Regions from separate parts of the Homo sapiens genome. Here regions 2 and 3 are each linked to region 1. Evidence: promoter capture Hi-C in 16 types of primary human blood cells and fetal thymus (Javierre and others, 2016). All regions are on one chromosome and are shown on one strand. The core of a region is centred on a gene start or on the middle of the fragment in contact, and the rest is flanking DNA. Distances in the headings are between cores, read along the strand shown.

Region 1 (4,571 bases), core at 864-3,363:
TGGATTAAGGTGTTTTGGGTGTTGGCATTTTATGGAGGACTTCCTGGTTAGTATAACCAAGAATTTTCTTTTAAGCTGAGTATCAAAATTGTGTGTACTGTCCCTCTTAGCAAACCCATAAAACTAATCTAATGGGATTGAGAGAACCCCGTGTAAACTTACTGAAAATTCATCTTGGTGTGTGTATAAACAGAAGTAAACCTTTGAAAAAGTCATTAAGCATAGCAATTCCAATGCTATTGGGAACAGCCAACCTTAAATATCATTGCATCACTCAAGCCTTCTGGAACCTGCTATTCATTGTTCCTTACAAGTCTATTTGAAACAGATACAATGAAGGAAAATAAGTTTATTACATTGAAAAATAATTGTGGCCGGGCACGGTGGCTCGCACCTGTAATCCCAGCACTTTGGGAGGCCGAGGCGGGCAGATCACCTCAGGTCAGAAGTTCGAGACCAGCCTGACCAACGTGGAGAAACCCCATCTCTACTAAAAATACAAAATTAGCCAGGCATGGTGGCTCATGCCTGTAATCCCAGCTACGTGCGAGGCTGAGGCAAGAGAATCGCTTGAACCTGGGAGGTAGAGGTTGCAGTGAGCTGAGATCGGACCACTGCACTCCAGCCTGGGCAACAAGAGTGAAACTCCGTCTCAAAAAATAATTGTGCTGGACGGGTGCGGTGGCTCATGCCTGTAATCCCAGCACTTTGGGAGGCCCAATCAGGCGGATTACCTGAAGTCAGGAGTTCGAGACCAGCCTGGCCAACATGGTGAAACTCCGTCTCTACTAAAAATACAAAAATTAGCTGGGCATGGTGGCACATGCCTGTAATCCCAGCTACTCGGGAGGCTGAGGCAGGAGAATTGCTTGAACCCGGGAGGTGGAAGTTGTAGTGAGCCGAGATTGTGTCACTGCACTCCAGCCTGGCCGACAGAGCGAGACTGTCTCAAAAAATATATAATTGTGCTAAACTGAAATATACTAAAGAGTTCAGTTTAGCAAGATAAAAGGAACCCTCCAGATATTTCTTAGCCAGTTTGAGAAACAATACCACCTTTGAAAAGCCCTTCGTGTGCCTTATTTACCATTTATTAGATAATTAGAAGTGACTAGACTATTTGGTTTTGGTTTTAATACTGAGCATTACTAGCAGCTGTGATCCTGGCAGGCTATCTCCGAATAATTTTTTTTAAAGTGAAATACAGGCCGGGCACGGCGGCTTATGCCTATAATCCCAGCACTTTGGGAGGCAGAGGCGGGGAGGATCACTTGAGGTCAGGAGTTTGAAACCAGTCTGGCCAACATGGTGAAACCCCGTCGCTACTAAAAATACAAAAATTAGCCGGGCGTGGTGGCCCACGCCTGTAATCCCAGCTACTTGGGAGTCTGAGGCAGGAGAATCGCTTGAATCCGGGAGGCGGAGGTTGCTGTGAGCTGAGATCGCACCACTGCACTCCAGCCTGGGTGACAGAGACTCCGTCTCAAAAACAAAACAGGAACTTAAAACAATGGAACCCATTCACGTTCTTCTATTTGTCTTTAATAATCCTGGGTAATAGTCAACTAATAATCCTGGGTAGTAGTCTGGAGACACTCCTAGCGGAGTTTACTCGGGAGAGGGCGGAGAAATACATGACATGAGCAGTACAGGCTCATGGTTGGGAGCTGAGGGAAGGCTGAGAATCCTCCCGGAACCTCTGGATTCTGACGCCCCAGGGGTTCTTCACACAGGCTGGCCGGTCTCGGGATTGAAGCCGGAGACGTCAGACGCTAAGGTTGCTTAGACTGCGGCCCACGTGGAAGGCTCTTAGCCACCCTGCCTGGCCCGAGGTAATCGCGCTAGGGACGCTTTTTCTGCAGCAATGATATACCCCGCCGAACTGTCCCACGTCCTGGTTGGGACCTCTTGGTTTCGCTTGGCTGGGCTCAATCCATCCGTACGCCTCCGCCCTTCCCTCTTTGCGAACCCCTGCGGGTTCAGCGAATCGGCTGCAAGAAGCCCTGCATCCGCGAGGTAAGCGGCGGTTGGCGGCGGTGCCGGGGTTGGCAGCGCCCGCGGGTTGTCTACGCCGCGGGGCCTACGTCTCTGTCGGGCGTGCACCTCGGGAGCCACACCTGGGGCCCAGAGCCACCGCTCAGCACGCGGGCACGCGGCGGGAGGGAAGGAAACCGCGGCGCTGGGGATGGAGAGGGGGAAAGTGAAGAAGAAAGAGAAGGAAAAGGAGACGCAGGAGGAGAAAATCGGAGAAAAGGGTAGGGAAGAGAAAGTGAAAAGAAAGGAGGTGGAGCAGAAAATTAAACAAAAGCAAGAGAAGCAGGAGAGGAGAAAGGGAAAAGAGAAAGAGGAAAAGAGGACAAAGCAAGGGAAGGAGACAAACAAAGAGAAGGAACAATTTAAGGGACAAGAAGAGAAAGGGGAGAACAAGGACAGCACCTTGACAAGGACCCCGCTCGAGCCGCTGGTAAGAGACCCAGTGCCCAGGACCCCTTGCCCCAAGGCTTTTGTCGGCCGTTCAGACCCCAGCGCTGTCTCTGTTACGTCGGAGGCCCCCGACCGCGTGGGAGCGAATGGATCTCAACTGAGGGCTATTTACCTATGGATGAAAGAGATGCGCCAAACTTTGAACGACCCATCCCCTTTTCCCGGGCCCCCTGCCCACCCTAGCCCTTATCGCTACCCCTGTGTCTTAACCTCAGTCGGGTCTGTTGTTGAGGGACAAGAGATCTCGGTCTTCATGGGGACATGGGGAACGGCCCCTCTACTGCCCTTAGATCTGTCCAGCGCGCAACACTAGCGCACAGACCACCTGACCACATTTAGAAACCAGCCCCGAACCCTCCCCACACGCAGGCCCTCTTTGCATTGAATGCGTTCTTTGTCAGAAGGGGCAGGGTTCCTGAACGCAGGAGGTGTTTGGGGACGCTGCAGTTGTTTTCAGACCACCAGTACCATGAATGGATGGCGGAAAAGTTTTAACTGACAGGTCTTAGAAACTTGGCATTATTTGGGTCAGCTGAATGGTCTCTGTGCTCCTGGAGTTCCTGAGCTGGCTCCTTGGCTTAGAGCTGCGCTCTGGTTCTAAACAATTATGAATGATTAACACAGTTGTGTGTGTGTGTGTGTGTGTGTGTGTGTGTGTGTGTGTGTGTGTGTTCTTTTTTGAGACAGGGTCTTACTCTGCCTCTCAGGCTGGAGGGATCCTCCCACCTCAGCCTGGCACCGCCCCCATCTCCCAACCTCAGTGACTGGCACTACAGGCACACGCCACCATGTCCAGCTAATTTTTGTATTTTTGTGCAGAGCTGGAGTTTCGCCATGTAGCTCAGGCTGATCTCAAACTCCTGGGCTCCAGCAATCCGCCCGCCTCAGCCTCCCAAAGCGCTGGGATTACAGGCGTGAGCCACCACGGATTAACAGAGATTTGATCTCTGGTAAAACACAGACTACATAGACTCATATTTGGCTAAAGGAATAACTTTTGACAAAAACGGTGTTCAGAATCACATTTTGTGTCTGAACTGTTTTACAAATTCAGCTTTCCTTAGGAGAAGGTAAATGTGAGGAAGCCTGAATGCAGAATTTCTAGGTAGGATGGGCGTAGGGACAGCAACGTGGTTGGAAAGGGAACTGATATTTTTGTTTTTGTTTTTTTGAGACAGAGTCTGGCTCTGTCGCCCAGGCTTGAGTACAGTGGCGTGATCTCGGCTCACTGCAACCTCCACCTCCCAGGCTCAAGTCATCCTCCCACCTCAGCCTCCCAAGTAGCTGGGATTACAGGTGCACACCGCCGTGCCTAGCTAATTTCTGTATTTTTGGTAGAGATGGGGTTTCGCCATGTTGCCCAGGCTGGTCTTCAACTCCTGAGCTCAAGCGATCCACCCGCGTTGGCCTCCCAAAGTGCTGGGATTACAGGCATGAGCCACTGTGCCCGGCCTGGGAACTGCTTTTAATTCACACTATTTTATAGGGCCTAAGATGACATTAGTCTAGGTACCACTAAGAAAGAAAAAAAAGCCGGCGCAGTGGCTCACACCTGTAATCCCGGCACTTTGGGAGGCCAAGGTGGGTGGATCACCTGAGGTCAGGAGTTCCAGAACAGCCTAGCCAACATGGCAAAACCCCATCTCTACTAAAAATACAAAAAAAGTAGCTGGGCATGGTGGCATGTGCCTGTAATCCCAGCTACTCGGGAGGCTGAGGCAGGAAAATCGCGTGAACCTGGGAGGCAGAGGTTGTAGTGAGCCAAGATCGTGCCACTGCACTCCACAGAGAGAGATTCTGTATCAAAAAAAAAAAAAAAAAATTCTCCCAATCAAAATGTGACATACTCTCAATTGTCAAAGACATTCTAATTTCAGAGATATTAAAATGTGGAATGTGGGGGGAATATGTATCTTAGAATGAATGAAGTATGTTGGGGTAGGCTGAATAGGGCCTCTGGTGAAGACTGACAGGACACAATCCACTCTTGGCTGCCATTTCTTGGTGCCAGTATTGCTTTAAAACATGCAATTTTAAGCCATCCAATGAAGTCTCCCTTGCCCCTCTTCCTTACCTTGACACACTCT
Region 2 (4,571 bases), core at 915-3,414, 300 kb after region 1:
AATGAAACTGACTTCAGTAAGCCCGCCCACGAGTACTTATTAGGTTTTTATTGTGTGACAGGCACTGTGCCAAGTGCTGGGAATTCAGTAGGGAACACAACAAATACTGGTTTTAACCTCATGGAACTTAAAAGTCTACAGCAGACATCAGATTCTTGGTTTTCAGAAGTGAGAGTTGTTCTGCTTTTCAGAGAAAAAAGAATGATCCTATAAGTTCTGCATGTACAGGAGCTAAGGGTCATTTGTCATTGTATACCCCATGCTCATCACATGGTAGATATCTGTAAGTGTGTACGACATAAATGAGTGAATGATCAGACGTAAAGATTTTTTGTCATTAAAAAAATCTAAGGCAGGGCCGGGTGCTGTGGCACATGCCTGTAATCCCAGAGCTTTGGGAGGCCAAGGCAGGTGGACTGCTTGAGCTCAGGAGTTCAAGACCAGCCTGGGCAACATGGCCAGGCCTCATCTCTACAAAAATTAAGAATAATTTTTAAAATTAAAAAAAGGGCCGGGCACGGTGGCTCACATCTGTAATCCCAGCACTTTGGGAGGTTGAAGGGGGTGGATCACGAGGTCAGGAATTCAAGACCAGCCTGGCCAATATGGTGAAACGCCGTCTCTACTAAAAAATACAAAAAATTAGCAGGGTTTGGTGGTGGGCACCTGTAATCCCAGCTACTCGGGAGGTTGAGGCAAGAGAATTGCTTGAACCTGGGAGGTGGAGGTTGCAGTGAGCCGAGATCACACCACTGCACTCCAGCCTGGGCAACAGAGCAAGATTCCATCTCAAATAAATTAATTAATTAAATAACAAAGAAGAATCTAAACCAGTTTAAGGTATGCTCCTGGAACTGTTCAAAATCTTCTGGGCATGAAGCATTGTTATCTTTTTCAGAGTAACATAGGAAAAAATGAAATTCACTGTTGGGCAAGTCAAAACGTTGTTTTCTTTGTGGTGTGTGGGATTTCTGGTTTGAGTTATCTTGCCTGTTCTTGCAGGAAGGAAATTCATGGAGGTTAGTGGTTTTGTTGTCATTATTTTGTGAGCTTCCTAAGCTGTATTTTCATGTCCTCAACCAACAAATATGCACTGTGCTAGGTGCTATTCTGGGCACTGAAAATACCATGATGAGCAAGACTTAGAGGATCTCCATCCTTGGGCAGCTTCTATTCTAGAACTCTCCATAGACTGTTGAACTTTCTTCTCACCATTTACTTGAGACAACTATAATTACTATGCCACTTTTAAAGAACATTAGACCAGCCTGGCCAACAAGGTGAAACCTCATCTCTACTAAAAATACAAAAACTAGCCAGGCATGGTGGTGTGTGCCTGTAACCCCAGCTATTCGGGAGGCTGAGGCAGGAGAATCACTTGAACCCTGGAGGCAGAGATTGCAGTGAGCTGAGATCGCTCCACTGCACTCCAGCCTGGAGCGAGCCTCTGTCTCAAAAAAAAAAAAAAAAAAAAAAAAAAAAAAAAAAAGAAAAGAAAAGAAAAAAAAGAAGAAGATTAAAGGGAAAAAACGAATTTTTCAATAAAGAATGAATGCTAGCCAGGTGCAGTAGCTCATGCCTGTAATCCCAGTACTTTGGGAGGCTGATGCGGGCAGATCACCTGAGGTCTACAGTTCGAGACCAGCCTGGCCAACATGGTGAAACCCCGTCTCTACTAAAAATTCAAAAATTAGCCGGGTGTGATGGTGGGGACCTGTAATCCCAGCTACTCTAGAGGCTGAGGCAGGAGAATTGCTTGAGCCCCAGTGATGGAGGTTGCAGTGAGCCGAGATGGCGCCACTGCACTCTGGCCTGGCTGACAGAGAGAGATTCTGTCTCAAAAAAAAAAAAAAAGAATGGATGCAAACTGAGTATACAGAACAACTCTAACTGAGCAGATTCGGGGCAGCACTACTTCTTTAACTCAACGGTATTAGAAAGAAGAACTAGGCACTCATTTGTCACAGAGGATGTAGATAGGTACACGCTTTTCAAAAATATTTTGAAATCTCTTTCAATGTTTTAAATTTGTGTATCTTCTGACCAAGTAATGCCAATCTTATGCATTTGTCCTACAGAATGTGCACAAAGAAGGAAGGGCATGAGTACAAAGACATAAGTTTAGCCAGGCATGGTGTCACATGTCTGTAGTCCCAGCTACTCCGGAGGCTGAGGTGGGAGGATCGTTTTGAGTCCAGGAGTTCTGGGCTGTAGTGTGCTATCCCTATGGGTGTCCACACTAAGTTTGGCATCAATATGGTGACCTCCTGGGAGCAGGGGACCACCAGGTTGCCTAAGAAGGGGTGAACCGGCCCAGGTTGGAAACAGGGCAGGTCAAAATCCCGGTGCTGATGAGTAGCAGGATCTCACCTGTGAACAGCTACTGCACTCCAGCCTGGGCAATATAGTGAGACCCATCTCTATTAAAAGAAAATTTTTCACTTTTTAAAAAATAAATAGGCCAGGTGCGGTGGCTCACACCTATAATCACTACACTTTGGGAGGCCGAGGCGGGTGAATCACCTGAGGTCAGGAGTTCAAGACCAGCAAGGCCAACATGATGAAACCCCATCTCTACTAAAAATACAAAAAATTAGCTGGGCATCATGGCGCATGCCTGTAATCCCAGCTACTCAGGAGGCTGAGGCAGGAGAATCACTTGAACCCGGGAGCCGGAGGTTGCAGTGAGCTGAGATCGTGCCACTGCACTCCAGCCTGGGCAACACAAGCAAAACTTCACCTCAAAAAATAAATAAAAATTTATAAATAAATAAATAAAAATAAAAGACATAATTTCAGCATTAGTGATAGTGAAAAATGAGAAATAATGTAAGTGTCTATCAGGATGAGATTGAATAGACAAATTATGGTATGTCTATATAACAGAATACTATGCAAGTGTTTTCAATGATGTAGATCTATATGTATAGATTTGGAAAAACATCCATGAAATATTAAGTCAAAAGAGCAAACTGTTTTTGCAAAAAAAGGTATAGTTTTCTATAATACAGCCAACATTTCAAGTGTCCTAAGCACCTTACATGCATTATCTTAAGTAGATACTATTATCTTCCTCACTTTATAAATGAGGAAACTGAGTTAAGCAGTAATTTGGTCAGTGAATGCAGATATCTGGCTTTGAACCAGTGTGCTTAGTCACTTCACTATATCAAGGAAGTAATTAATTCCCCTTTTAGCTTAGGCTAGTTTGAGTTGGGATTTCCCACTTTCAATCAAGAGAATCCTAATAAATAATCCAGATATAGGTCAATAGAGACTGGATAAATTATGGCACAATAACAGTATACTGTGTAGCTGTTTAAAAGAAGAAACAGGCTGGGCACGGTGGCTCATGCCTGTTATTGCAGCACTTTGGGAGGCCAATGAGGCAGATCCCTTGAGGTCAGGAGTTCCAGACCAGCCTGGCCAACATGGTGAAACCCTGTCTCTACTAAAAATACAAAAATTACCCAGGTGTAGTGGTGGCAGGCCTCCAATCCCAGCTACTCCAGAGGCTGAGGCAGGAGAATCGCTTGAACCCGGGAGGCAGAGGTTGCAGTGAGCAGAGATCATGCCACTGCACTCCAGCCTGGGCCACAGAGCAAGACTCAGTCTCAAAAAAATAATAATAAATTTTTTTAAAAAAGAAGAAACAATATATATCAACATGAAAACAAACCCAATATTTAAAGAGTAAAAGCAAGTTTACAGGACTTGTGTGTGCACATGTGTAATTTTGTATACACGTGTACTTAGAGAAAAAGACATTTCAAAACAGTTTTGGGTGCCTCTGGAGGCTAGGATGGGCAAGACTTTCACTCTATTTTTATATACTTCTGTATCTATTTTTTTTTCATTTATTTATTTATTTAATAGAGACGGGGTCTTCTGTGTTGCCCAGGCTGATCTCGAACTTCTGGCCTCAAATGATCCTCTTGCCTCAGCCTCCCAAAGTGCTGGCATTACAGGGGTGAGCCCCTGCACCCGGTCTGTATTTTTCAATTTTCCAAAAAGTATATATGACTCTTTTTTTTTTTTTTCAAGATGGAGTCTTGCTCTGTCAACGCAGGCTGGAGTGTAGTGGTGTGATCTCAGCTCACTGCAACCTCCACCTCCTGGGTTCAAGCGATTCTCCTGCCTCAGCCTCCCGAGTAGCTGGGGTTATAGGCACGTGCCACCACGCCCAGCTACTTTTTGTATTTTTAGTAGAGACGAGGTTTCACCATATTGGCCAGACTGGTCTCGAACTCTTGACCTCGTGATCTGCCTGCCTTGGCCTTCCAAAGTGCTGGGATTACAGGCAAGAGCCACCATGCAGGCCCAGGCTCAGTTCTATCACCTTAGGCAAATGTGTTTGCCTTTGTGGGCCTGTTTTCTCCTCTCTAGGAGGGGTGTCTGAAACAATAGTAGCACCTATTTCAGTGGCTTCTATATGTCAAGCACTATGCTAAACAGTTTCCTCATCATAGCTCCAGGAGCTAAACATCAACCCCATTTTCAGATACGAAAACTGAAACACAAGTGTTGGAATCAGAATGAACTCATATTTAGCTCACCCCCAAAAGCCATGT
Region 3 (4,571 bases), core at 922-3,421, 270 kb after region 1:
GGTTAAAGACCAGCCTGGCCAACATGGCGAAACCCAGTCTGTACTAAAAATACAAAAAGATAGCCGGGCATGGTGGCAGGAGCCTGCAATTCCAGCTACTTAGGAGGCTGAGGCAGGAGAATCACTTGAACCCAGGAGGCAGAAGTTGCAGTGAGCTGAGATTGCACCATTGCACTCCAGCCTGGGCGACAAGAGGGACACTCCATCTCAAAAAAAAAAAAAAAAAAATGTAGACTGTGAAACTCATTCCAGAAGCAGTAGCCTAAAGGAAAATATATTTAGTCTAAAAATCCTTTCTTTCAAGCATAAGAATCTGGCTTTTGAACATCAGAAGCTAAAATCCCAAAGAATTTAGAGCAGTAAAGTATTTCTATAATCAATGAGTTTGGAAGAAGACATGCTCATGTAAGAGTTTGCCCCACTCTAGGTAGGGCATGGTGGCTCACACTTGTAATCCCAGCACTTTGGGAGGCCAAGGCGGGTGTGGTTTTGGGTGCCTGTAATCCCAGCTACTCAGGAGGCTGAGGCAGGACAATCGCTTGAACCCAGGAGGCGGAGGTTGCAGTGAGCTGAGATCGCACCACTGCACTCCAGCCTGGACAACACAGCAAGATTCTGTCTCAAAAAAAAAAAAAGTTTGCCTCACTCTAGAGGATATAAAGATCCCCTGACAGGGTGGAGGAACAGAAATAATTCCAATAAGTATCCTATCTTGCACCATTCCAAGTCTACAGAGGAGCAAGGGGAAATAAAAGACATTCCAGATTGTCTGGGGTCTCCAAAGTGGAGGGAATCTGTTGCTAAACATCAGTCTCCACCAGGCACGTGGCTCATACATGCAATCCCAGTGTTTTGGGAGGCCGAGGTGGGAGGATTGCTTGAAGTTAGGAGTTTGAGACCAGCCTGGGCAACATAGTAGGATCCCATCCCTACAAAAAATAAAACAATTAGCCAGACCAGGTGGCACGTGCCTGTAGTCTCAGCTAATCTCAGGAGGCTGAGAAAGGAGGATGGCTTGAGCCCAGAAGGTGGAAGCTGCAGTAAGACATAATCTGCCACTGCACTCCAGCCTGGGCAATAGAACAAGACCCTGTCCCAAAAAGATAAAATAAAACAAAAGTCAGTCTCATATAGGCTTCTTGCATCCAGCATGGGCTGGGCATAGGTCATAAATGTTGAAGCCAAGAGCACATGAAACTGCCCCACTACCCTACCTATATCCTTCTAATCAGGTGAACAAGCAGCCAAATATTTCCCATTCCCTGGGAGATGTGTGAAGGCAACTGAGAGAGCAGATGACTTAGGATTAGGAAGAAGGAACATGGCAACAGATAATCCCCTGGACATTCTGACCAGAGATCTGATGAGAAAATAAACATCTCAAGAGATTCCAGTGAGAAAGACGAAGAACAACCAAAGGTCAGATAAAATGTGGCCATTGAGGCCGGGCATGGTGGCTCAGGCCTATAATCCCAGCACTTTGGGAGGCTGAGGCAGGAGGATCACTTGAGCCAGAAGTCCAAGACCAGCCTAGATAACATATCAAGACCCCTATCTCTAATTTTAAAATCAACATTTATTAAAATAAATAAATATATAAGAATGTGGCCATTGAGCTCTTGACACCACCTAGTCTCTCCCCGACCGCACCAGGATGCATCAACATAGCACTCAGAATTGAGATGCAACCCTGCGGTGAAGAGGAGAGAGGCAAGAGTTTGATTGGCTGAGAAAGCCCTATTGGCTAAAGATTACATTTCTGCCACTAGGCAGAATGGGGACTCAAGCTGAAAGTCAAGTTTATTAAGCTAGGCACAGTGGTGTGCACATTTAATCCCAACTACTTGCGGAGGCTGAGGTGGGAGGATTGCTGGAGCCCAGGGGTTAGACATTAGCCTGAGTAACATAGTGAGATCCCATCTCAAAAAATAATAGTAAGAATAATCAAGTTCACTTAGAACAAAAATTAGAAAAGCTTTGTTTCTTGCATACCCAAGTATGTGTATTGAAATTTGTTCAAGATACACTAGTTTTTATCTGTTCACATGACTGTCTACCCACTGGGCTATAAACTCATCAATGGTAGGGACTGTGTCTTTTCATCTCTGAATCCCCAGCACATATCATAAAGACTGAAACAGAGGCTAAATGTATGTTCAGTGGATTCAGCCACTTGATGCCCATGCAAGCATGACATATCCAATGTTGCCAAACACCCTGGGTGGGTAAGCTAATCCATGAGCCCAATCTATTTAGCCAGAGCTCCATATGCATTTTGGACAGAGAAGAGGAGATAGTGGGGGCGGTGGGGAGGCAGCCCGTGGGAAATCCCAGGAGATGCCTTTGTGTAATCATCACTAGAAATTATAAGCTTATAAAACCACGGAGAATTTTTTCAGGGCTGGAAGAATCTCTGTAGGATCTAACCCAAAACAAAGTCAGGCATTTTTGCTCCAAAGCCTGTAGACAGGGCTGGTTTTAGAGCAGGTGGATTTTACCTTTGCCTCCAAGTGTGATTTTAAAGGCCCAAGCAGCTCCCTGCAAATCTTCCCCATCTGCTGTTGCAGGGTCCTACCTGGTATTCCACTTTAAATACTCCTTCCATTTCTTTAACCTGAAATCTTATTCTTTGCTAAAATGGAGACCGATTTGAGAAAAGAAATATTTTGAGTTACTATCAGCCTTTTATCCTTTGACCTAACCAAAAGAGCACAGAAATTTTTTTTTTTTTTTAGACGCCAGAGTCTCACTCTGTTGCCCAGGCTGGAGTGCAATGACGCAGTCTCAGCTCACTGCAACCTCTGCCTCCCGGGGTTCAAGCGATTCTCCTGCCTCAGCTTCCTGAGTAGCTGGGATTACAGGTGCCCACCGCCAGGCCCTGGCTAATTTTTGTATTTTTAGTAGAGACGGAGTTTCACCATGCTGGCGAGGCTAGTCTCTAACTGCTGACCTCGTGATCCGCCCGCCTTGGCCTGCCAAAGTGCTGGGATTACAGGCATGAGCCACCGCACCCAGCCCAAGCGGAGGAATTTTTTTTTTTTTTTTTGAGACGGAGTCTCGCTCTTTCGCCCAGGCTGGAGTGCGGTGGGGCGATCTCGGCTCACTGCAAGCTCTGCCTCCCGGGTTCACGCCATTCTCCTGCCTCAGCCTCCCAAGTAGCTGGGACTACAGGCGCCCGCCACCACGCCCGGCTAATTTTTTGTATTTTTAGTAGAGACGGGGTTTCACCGTGTTAGCCAGGATGGTCTCCATCTCCTGACCTCATGATCCACCCACTTAGGCCTCCCAAAGTGCTGGGATTACAGGCGTGAGCCACCGCGCCCGGTAAGCGGAGGAATTTTTAAAACAAGAGATAGGTTGGATGGAGAGGTGGAGAGTAACAGGTACATGGAAGTTGGGAAGGAGGCTCCCTGAGTGGAGAAAAGACAGAACAGAGAATCCCAGGGTGCAGATCCTTTGTAGGCTTTGCAGTTCTGCATAGGGCCTCCTATACCTATGCAAGAACAGGATGTGGATCTGGATCTGGGTGGACTGGAGAAAGAAAATAGAGGTGCTCCCCATCCCCCACTGCCTCACATTAGTCATTGGCGCCTTGAGAATTGTCCTGGCCTGCTTAGGAGCTGTTTTCTGTCTTGGATGAATTGGTGCTTTTCTAAGAAGAAAGAGAGCTGTGATGGACTGCAGCAGAAGTAAACCCTGGGGCATGCACCAACTCACCAAATTGATTCCTGGGCTTGGGATACAGAGAACTTTGTAATTATGAGACTATAATGCTTGTAAATTGGCTTGAGGAAATTAGACACACAAACCCGATTGCCAGGAGCCATGAAATAAGATTTGTTGGAGCCAAATGGATTTTGTGGATGCAAGCTTCTTGGAGGCTTGGGTTTTCTGTTGAGAAGACATCACTGAGCTAAATCTAATGACGGCAGGAGGTAGCTCTCACTTTCCAAAGCAAAGAAACTGGTAGTGCTGGCGAAGATACGACAGGCACAGTCTGAAGGTCTGTCTTGAGAATTTTCTGGAAAGATTGACTGCCAAGCAGCCCATGCTTCTCCTCATTTAACTGGGTCTTCTCAAGCAGGATGAAAAAGATCTAAGTTCATCTCTGCTGTGCTTCCGTTCAGGTGACTGATTAACTCACGGACACACTGGTATGGCTTAGAAACAAATACGTAGCCATTGTCTTAGTCCGTTAAAGCTGTCGCAACAAAATCCCATAAATTGAGATAAACAACAGAAGTTTATTTTTCACGGTTTTGGAGGCTGGGAAGTCCAAGATTAAGGCATCAGCAGATTTGATATGTGGTGAGGGCCTGCCCTCTAGTCCATAACTGGTGATAGCTGGCTACCTTCTTACTGTGTCCTCACAGGGTGAAAAGGCCAGCTAGCTCTCTGGAATCTCATTTGTGAGGGCTCTGTCCTCTTGTTCTAATCACCTGCCAAATGCCCCACCTCCTACTACCATCACCTTAGGGGTCAGAATTTCAACTTATGAATTTTGGAGGGACACAAACATTCAGACCACAGCAATCACTGATTGTACCTTAGGTGTATTTGGACACTTAGCA

The links. Contacts are between HindIII fragments. The CHiCAGO score rates a contact against its expected background, and 5 or more counts as called.
Region 2: a contact is called between a fragment that was not itself captured here and the fragment with the promoter of ARL9 in region 1, in 2 of 17 cell types (total CD4 T cells and non-activated CD4 T cells). The highest score is 6.1, in total CD4 T cells.
Region 3: a contact is called between a fragment that was not itself captured here and the fragment with the promoter of ARL9 in region 1, in 1 of 17 cell types (M1 macrophages). The highest score is 5.1, in M1 macrophages.

What each region holds. Positions count from the first base shown.
Region 1 is chr4:56,503,678-56,508,248 of GRCh38, forward strand. It overlaps ARL9 (ARF like GTPase 9), which reads left to right and starts at 2,114. Exons shown (of 4, transcript NM_001363794.2): 1 at 2,114-2,464. The coding sequence starts at 2,186. It overlaps SRP72 (signal recognition particle 72), which reads left to right. Exons shown (of 19, transcript NM_006947.4): 19 at 1-4. The HindIII fragment of the contact is 16,175 bases long and covers 1-4,571 here.
Region 2 is chr4:56,803,710-56,808,280 of GRCh38, forward strand. It overlaps the pseudogene RN7SL357P. Among named protein-coding and RNA genes, the nearest start is that of SPINK2, 16 kb to the right of the region's middle. The HindIII fragment of the contact is 8,095 bases long and covers 1-4,571 here.
Region 3 is chr4:56,778,056-56,782,626 of GRCh38, forward strand. No RefSeq gene overlaps it. Among named protein-coding and RNA genes, the nearest start is that of SPINK2, 41 kb to the right of the region's middle. The HindIII fragment of the contact is 396 bases long and covers 1,974-2,369 here.